Linked DNA regions of Homo sapiens: regions 2 and 3 are each linked to region 1. Evidence: promoter capture Hi-C in human tissues and cell types (Jung and others, 2019). All regions are on one chromosome and are shown on one strand. Each heading gives the region's core, a stretch centred on a gene start or on the middle of the fragment in contact. The rest is flanking DNA. Distances are from core to core; before and after follow the strand shown.

Evidence for each region. The method cuts DNA at HindIII sites, captures the fragments that hold promoters and counts their contacts. A contact is called where the count stands out against the background at its distance.
Region 2: a fragment that was not itself captured here is called in contact with the fragment with the promoter of EPHX4 in region 1 in 1 of the 25 tissues and cell types used here (dorsolateral prefrontal cortex).
Region 3: a contact is called between a fragment that was not itself captured here and the fragment with the promoter of EPHX4 in region 1, in 1 of the 25 tissues and cell types used here (thymus).

Annotation. Positions count from the first base shown.
Region 1 is chr1:92,028,700-92,031,249 of GRCh38, forward strand. It overlaps EPHX4 (epoxide hydrolase 4), which reads left to right and starts at 1,286. Exons shown (of 7, transcript NM_173567.5): 1 at 1,286-1,611. The coding sequence starts at 1,381. LOC124904218 (a long non-coding RNA gene) reads right to left here and starts at 1,688. Exons shown (of 2, transcript XR_007066222.1): 1 at 666-1,688. RefSeq lists an enhancer at 985-1,486. The HindIII fragment of the contact is 17,230 bases long and covers 1-2,550 here.
Region 2 is chr1:92,678,292-92,680,841 of GRCh38, forward strand. The region is part of intron 9 of EVI5 (ecotropic viral integration site 5); the gene reads right to left. Among named protein-coding and RNA genes, the nearest start is that of EVI5, 110 kb to the right of the region's middle. The HindIII fragment of the contact is 3,514 bases long and covers 1-2,550 here.
Region 3 is chr1:92,541,808-92,544,357 of GRCh38, forward strand. The region is part of intron 19 of EVI5 (ecotropic viral integration site 5); the gene reads right to left. Among named protein-coding and RNA genes, the nearest start is that of GFI1, 56 kb to the left of the region's middle. The HindIII fragment of the contact is 4,277 bases long and covers 1-2,550 here.

The DNA.
Region 1 (2,550 bases), core at 36-2,535:
CATTAGAAATTGCAAAGGTCTCAATAAGTTCCTAACTCAAGACCCTAGAAAAAAAGAGCAAAATACAGTTAACCCTCAAACAACATGTGTTTGAACTGTGTAGGTCCACTTACACATGGATTTTCTTCCACCTCTTCCCTCCCCCTCACCCCAAGACAGGAAGATCAACCTCCCTTCTTCTTTCTCCTCCTCAGCTTACCTAACCTGATGATGACAAGGATGAACACTCTTAAGATAATCCACTTCCACTTAATGAATAGTAAATGTATTTTCTCTTCCTTATGATTTTAACATTTTTCTTAATTATAAAGATACAGTATGTAATACATAAACATATGTTAATTGTTTTGGTCAGTAGTAGGCTATTAGTACTTAAGTTTGGGGGAACTCAAAAGTTATACATGGATTTTCAGATGTGAAAGGGTTCAGCAACCCTAACCCCCCGCATTGTTCAAAGGTCAATTGTATAACTCACACATGCTGAAGTAAATTCAAAATTGTACAGCCACTTTGGAAACCAGTTTGACAGTTTCTCATAAAAAATGAACACTTAATACCTGACCCGGTGATTGGGAAAAGGCTTAATGAAATTCTAACAGTGAACTGGACGATAGAAGAGGTCAGGACAAGAGTGGCCATGTCGGTGCTGAGGCTGAGATACCTACCGAGGACTGTCACTCTCACGGCTTCCAGCCCTTCGACGAACTCTCAGGTGTGTGGCCTTCTGGCCAGGCTTCTGCCGCGTCACGTTGTTGAAGCATTCGTTGTATCCCTGGGGTTGCAGCTCTCTGTAAGTTTGCTGTGGCTGAACCAGGCAAGGCATAGGCGGATTTCTACAGAAATTATGATTCCACGAAAGATTTTGAGAAGAGGAAGGCTGGTATCTTTCAGAGTGCAGAGTGATTTTGCACTCTAAAGAATCTCTTTGGGTGTAATAGCATGGAAGTTTGTCGCTGACCTGTGTCCCTGAACTATGACACACGAATATGTGGGCTTAGAAATAGTTTTGCTTGATACATTGAGAACAACAAAGAAGACTGAGTGGCGCTACCTTCTTTGGTGCCCAGGATGGTTTGGGAAAGTCTCGCCTTCATCCTCCCCCACAGTTTTGCGATTTTGAAACGGGATCTCGCTCTCCGCGGAAGACAGCCAAGCTCTGCACCCCGGCCTGGCCCGCCGCACCCCGCAGGCCCGGCTCTCCCCTGCGCGCTCCGGGCTGGGCGCGGCGCGTGTGCGGAGCCGCCGCGGTGACACGGAACGCCGGCCGCCCCGGGCCGGGGGAGGCGCGCGTCGAGAGGCGACGGCGGGCTGGCCTGGCGCGCTGCGGCGCTCGCTCACCCGCTCCCGAGGAAGGGCAGTGGGCCCCGCCGCCGCCTCCCAATGGCGAGGCTGCGGGATTGCCTGCCCCGCCTGATGCTCACGCTCCGGTCCCTGCTCTTCTGGTCCCTGGTCTACTGCTACTGCGGGCTCTGCGCCTCCATCCACCTGCTCAAACTTTTGTGGAGCCTCGGCAAGGGGCCGGCGCAGACCTTCCGGCGGCCCGCCCGGGAGCACCCTCCCGCGTGCCTGAGCGACCCCTCCTTGGGCACCCACTGCTACGTGCGGATCAAGGTGAAGGGCCGCGCGGGCCTGGCGGGAGCGGGAGGGAGCGTGACCGCCGCGAGGGTGGGGGGCTCCGGGCTTCTCCTTCCGAGACGCTGGCTCAGCGTCCCCTAGTGTCCTGGCAGGAGGGGAGGAGGGGTTGGGTCCCTGTGTGTCGTGTGTGTGTGTGTGTGTGTGTGTGTGTGAGAGAGAGAGAGAGAGAGAGAGATACAGATAAACAGCACTCGGTCTTTGCAGGCACCTTGATTGGTTTCTGAATGTGGAACTTCTCTAATCAGGGGCCTCTTATATTACTGCCCCCCGGCGCCACAACAACCCAGAATAAACCTGCTCTTTTTCCTACTGCAAGGGGAAGCTGTCTCCTGTCACCCTTTTGCCCTTTAGAGCTCAGATCAGCTGTAGAGAATTGTTCCTCGTGGCATCCTAATGTCTCAGGAGGCTGTTCTTGCCCAATTTTAGAGATAATAAGAGTAAACAGTCAGTCTTTGGGAGTCATGAGTTTATTATGATCACAGACGACTTAGGTTGCATGAAACAATAAGTAAATTGTGTGTGTTGTGGGGAGGAATGCATACTTATGAAGTCAGGGACCAAAGAAAGGAATGGAATAAAAGGTAAATCCAGCCATGCCTGCAGACGCTAATTGTTCAAGCTTCCTCACAGCCCACAAATATTCTGTTTCCTGAGGCTCCAGGTGGTGAAGGGAAATAGTTCCCGTGATACACCCTGCAGTCTGACTCACAGGCCTTTCAAACCCAGCCTCATAAGAGGGGATGTTTATGTCACCAAGTCCTTATTTCCTGTTAGGAGCTAAATTGCCCCGCAGCTGAAGTTCAGAAGGGCAAGAGAACTTCTTTCTTGCCTGGGGTCGACATGAGAATTAAATAGGTTAATATTTATAAAAACAAACACGAAAAACTTAGAACAATGCCTGATGCATAGTCAGTG
Region 2 (2,550 bases), core at 35-2,534, 650 kb after region 1:
GGGCCAAGGGGGGCCAAGTGCTTGAGGCCAGGGGTTCAAGACCAGCCTGGGCAACATGGTGAAACCCAGTCTCTACAAAAAATACAAAAATTAGCCAGGTGCGGTGGGTGCATGCCTGTAGTTGCAGGTACTCAGAGGCTGAGGTGGGAGGATTGCTTGAGCCAGGAAAGTCAAGGTTGCAGTGAGCCATGATCTAGCCACTGCACTCCAGCCTGGGACCCTTCCCTGCAACGCCCAGAAAGTGATAAACCATTTTTTTAAAAGAAAAAAGATGTCCTGAAAAGGGCATATCATCTCTGTGGTCTGTCACTGATTGGAGGAGAGTAAGCACGATATGCAACTCTATGGTAAGTCTAAATTTACCTTTATAAAAATGTATAGGCCACACAAAAATTAGTACCACCAAATTTTTTTTATCTTGCTCTTGACAAAAAATATCAATACCAAGGTTACTCCAAATATAAACCAGACCAGGCTCCAAATAACTTACAGCTGCTTTCAAAAATAAAATTCTCCCTCAAAGGACAGAAATCTATTACTTATCTCATTTAGCTCACAACAACTTTTTAATATAAGTTGTTATACCCACTCTGGGGTTTAGAAAGCTTGAGAAACTTCTGTATAGTCACAGATTTGACTGCTACATTACTCTGTCTCTCACTAAAGTGTATCTTAAAACAGCAGTCCCCAACCCCTGGGCAGTGGACCAATACCAGTCTGTGGCCTGTTAGGAACTGGGTCATACAGCAGGAGGTGAACGGCAGGCAAGTGAACATCACTGCCTGAGCTCCACCTCCTGTCAGATCAGTGGCAGCATTAGATTCTCAAAGGAGTGCAAACCCTATTGTGAATTGTGCATGCTGGGGATCTAGGCTGCGGGCTCCTTATGAGAATCTCATGACTGATGATCTGACATGAGGTGGAACAGTTTCAACCTGAAGCCATACCCCCAGCCCCCATAAGTGGAGAAATGGTCTTCCACGAAAGCGGTCCCTAGTGTCAAAAAGGCTGGGGACCACTGTCTTAAAAGACTATAAGATAGCCGACAGAATTTATTAAAGACTCCAAAGAGCTGCAAAACATTTTCAACAGCTGCACTACTGAAATAAGTTTATAGCCTTCACAAATGACTACTCTGAAGTAGTTATCATTATGCATTATGTAAAAATATCACTCATTTATACACCTAAAAATAAACCCTACTTATTTAACTCCACTGATAGTGTTTTTCAATAAACTTAATTTAAAAAAAAATATTTGGTTTACAAAAAGATTGTGAAGATAGTACAGAGATTCCATGTATCCCATCCCAGTTTACCCTATTATTAACATGTTACAGTAGTATGGTACATTGTTATAATTAATGAACCAATATTAACACATTGCTGTTACCTAAAGCCCATGACAGTTTTGATGAGAACCTTGACAGTTTTGAGGAGTACTGGTCAGGTATTTTGTAGTTATCATTATGTGATCTTCAAAAGGGACCATTCCGTCCTTCAAATGGGATTTGTCTCATGTTTTTCTCATGATTATACTGGGGTTATTGGGTTTTCAGGAGGAAGACCACAGACATAAATGCCGTTTTCATTGCCTCATACTAAGGGTACAAACTATCAACAGAACATCACTATTGATGTTGACCTTGATCATCTGGCTGAAGGAGTACACACCAGGTTTTTCCAGTGTAAAGTTATTTGTTCCCCCTTCACTGATAGTGTTTTTAGACCCGCATTATGATTTGTCTAAATTACTGGAAAATACTCATAATTGTTCTTTCTATGGCCAGTTTCATAACTCAATATTTTCTATACACTATTAACAGAGTGATCTTTTTTTAAAATGTTGATTTGGATCACGCCACACCCAGCGTGTCAGTGGTTACTCATCACCTTCAGACTAAATTTCAAAGGCTTACAAAAAAGTAATCAAAGCTCTCTGGAGAAATAGCTCATTACTGCGCAGGAGCCAAGAAGGTATAAGTTGAACCTGGAATATTTTGTTGCCCCAAAGAAAGGAAATTCCCAAAGAATAATGGGGAAAATATCAAAAGAACAAAGCACCCAGGTTGCAAGGGTTCCCACTGGACAAATCAGGGATAATTTAATAGTAATGGATTATAGCTCACTGAATAAAATAATCCATGAATTCACACTGATGTAAATAAATGAATAAATAAATGAGGGTGAAGGGAAAGCTCTTCCTTACAGTAGAATGCTGATTAATAAATAAAGAATGAGGGAGTGGGAAAATCATAAATGGATATAAAACTGGTATGGTTAAGTTTGGTAAAGAAAGAGGTTACTACATAATCTCAAAGTAGCCTGCCACAAATTACTTATTACAAAAGGGGAAATAATAACTTTACAGTAGTAAAACCCAGCAAACATCACCTTAATCAAGTGACCAAAGCTAACATTACCAGTTCTGAGAGAAAGTAATATCATATATATCGTATGGTGAAATGAGAAGATATAATATCAGGGGTATACCTGCCAAAAATGCACAACCTGAATCTAATCCTGGGGAAATCCCAGAAAAACTCAGACT
Region 3 (2,550 bases), core at 30-2,529, 510 kb after region 1:
ATTATACTGTAGTCTGTTAAGTGTGCAACAGTATATGTTTAAAAACAATGTATATACCTTAATTAAAAATGGTTTACTCCTAAAAAATGCTAATGATCACCTGAGTGGTCAGCAAGTAATGGATCTTTTTGCTGGTGGAGGGTCTTGCCTTGATGCTGGTGGCAGCAGGCTGGCCAGTTACTGAAGGTTGGGGTGGTTGTGGCAATTTCTTAAAGTAAGACAACAATAAAGTTTGCTGCACTTCCTCACTCGGCCTTGCATGAAGTATTTCTCTGTAGCATTAGATGCTGTTTGATAGCATTTTACTCACAGTAGAACTTCTTTCAAAATTGGAGTAAATGCTCTCAAACCCTGCCACTGCTTTATCAACTAAGTTTACGGAATATTCTAAATCCTTTGTTGCCATCTCAACAATGTTCACAGTATCTTTACCAGGAGAAGATTCTAGCTCAAGAAACCACTTTTTTTTTTTGCTCATCCCTAAGAAGCAACTCCTCGTCCATTCAAGTTTGATCATGAGATTGCAGCAATTCAGGCACATCTTCAGGCTCTACTACATTACTAATTCTAGTTTTCTTGCTCTTTCCACTACATCTGCAGTGACTTCCTCCACTGAAGTCTTCAATCCCTCAAACGGTTGGAATCAACTTCTTCCAAACTCCTGTTAATGTTGATATTTTGACCTCCTCCCATGAATCACAAATGTTCTTAACGACATCTAGAATGGTGAACCCTTTGCGGAGGATTTCAATTTACTTTGCCCAAATCCATTAGAGGAATCACTATATATGGCACTATATGTCTTCTGGATAACCTGCTGCTTCTACATCAGCACTTGCTGCTTCACCTTGTACTTTTATGTAATGGAGCCTTATGAAATGATGTCTTAAATAATAAGACTTGAAAGTTGAAATTACTCCTTGATCCACGGGCTGCAGAATGAATGTTTCGTTAGCAGCATGAAAACAACATTAATCACCATGTACATCTGCATCAGAGCTCTTGGGTGACTAGTTGCATTGTTTCTGAGCAGTAATATTTTGGAAGGAAATCATTTTTTCTGAGCAGTAGGTTTCAACAGTGGGCTTAAAATATTTATTTTACCATGCTGTAATGAGATGTGCAGTCATCCAGGCTTTGTTTTTTCATTTACAGAGCACAGGCAAAGTAGATTTAGCATAATTCTTAAGAACCCTAGGGTTTTCAGAATGGTAAATGTGCACTTGGCTTCAACTTAAAGTCAACAGCTGCATTAGGCCCTAACGAGAGAGCCATTTGAAGCTTTGAAGCCAGATATTGACTTCTCTGTCGCTAGGAAAGCCATAGAGGGCATCTTCCTCCGGTATAAGACTGTTGCATCTACATTCAAAATCTGTTGTTTGGGGTGGCCTCCTTCATCAACGATCTTAGCTAGATCTTCTGGATAACTTGCTGCAGTTTCTACATCAGCACTTGCTACTTCACCTTGTACTTTTATGTGACGGAAATGGCTTCTTTCCTTAAACCTCATGAACCAACCTCTGTTAGCCTCCCACTTTCCTTCTGCAGCTTCCTCACTTCTCTCAGCCTTCAAAGAATTGAAGAGAGTTATGGCCTTGCACTGGATTAGGCTTTGGCTTAAGAGAATGTTGTGGCTGGCTTGATCTTCTATCCAGATCACTCAAACTTTCTCCATATCAGCAATGAGGCTGCTTTGCTTTCTTATCATTTGTGTTTTCAGTGGAGTAGTAACTTTAATTTCCTTCAAGAACTCTTCCTTTGCAATCACAACTTGGCTAACTGTTTGGTGCAACAGACCTAGCTTTCAGGCTATCTCAGCTTTCAACATGCCTGCCTCACAGCTTAATCATTTCTGGCTTTTGACTATATGAGTGCAATTTGTGGCACCCAAAAACAATTACAATAGCAACATCGAAGATCAATGATCACAGATCACCAGAAGGTATAATAGTGAAAAAGTTTAAAAAATTGTGAAAATTACCAAAATATGACACAGAGACATGAAGTGAGCACACGCTGTTGGAAAAACGGCATTGAAAGACTTGCTCAATGCAGGATTGCGACAAACCTTCACTTTGTAAAAACACAGTAGGATATAACAACCATTTATTGAGGCGCAATAAAGCAAAGCATAATAAAGCCAGGTATGCCTGTTTATCCATACAGTAGAACATTATTAGGTGACAAAAATAAATAAAAGCACTGACACATGCTACGACATGAATGAGCCTTGAAAACATTATACTAAGTGAAAAAGCCAGTCACAGAAAACCACAGGTTCTATGATTCCATTTATATTAAATGTCCAGAATTGGGAAATGTGTAGAGACAGAAAGTAGATTAGTGGGTTGCCTAGGGTTGGGGGAATAAGGCTTGGAGAGAAATAGGGAGTGACAAGCTAAATGAGCATAGGATTTCTTTTTGGAGAGATAATGTTCTAGAATTGACTGTGATGATAGCTGCATAACTGTGACTATATTAAAAACCACTGAATTGTAAACTTTACGTGGGTGCATTGTATCATATGTAAATAATGTCTCAGTAAAGCTG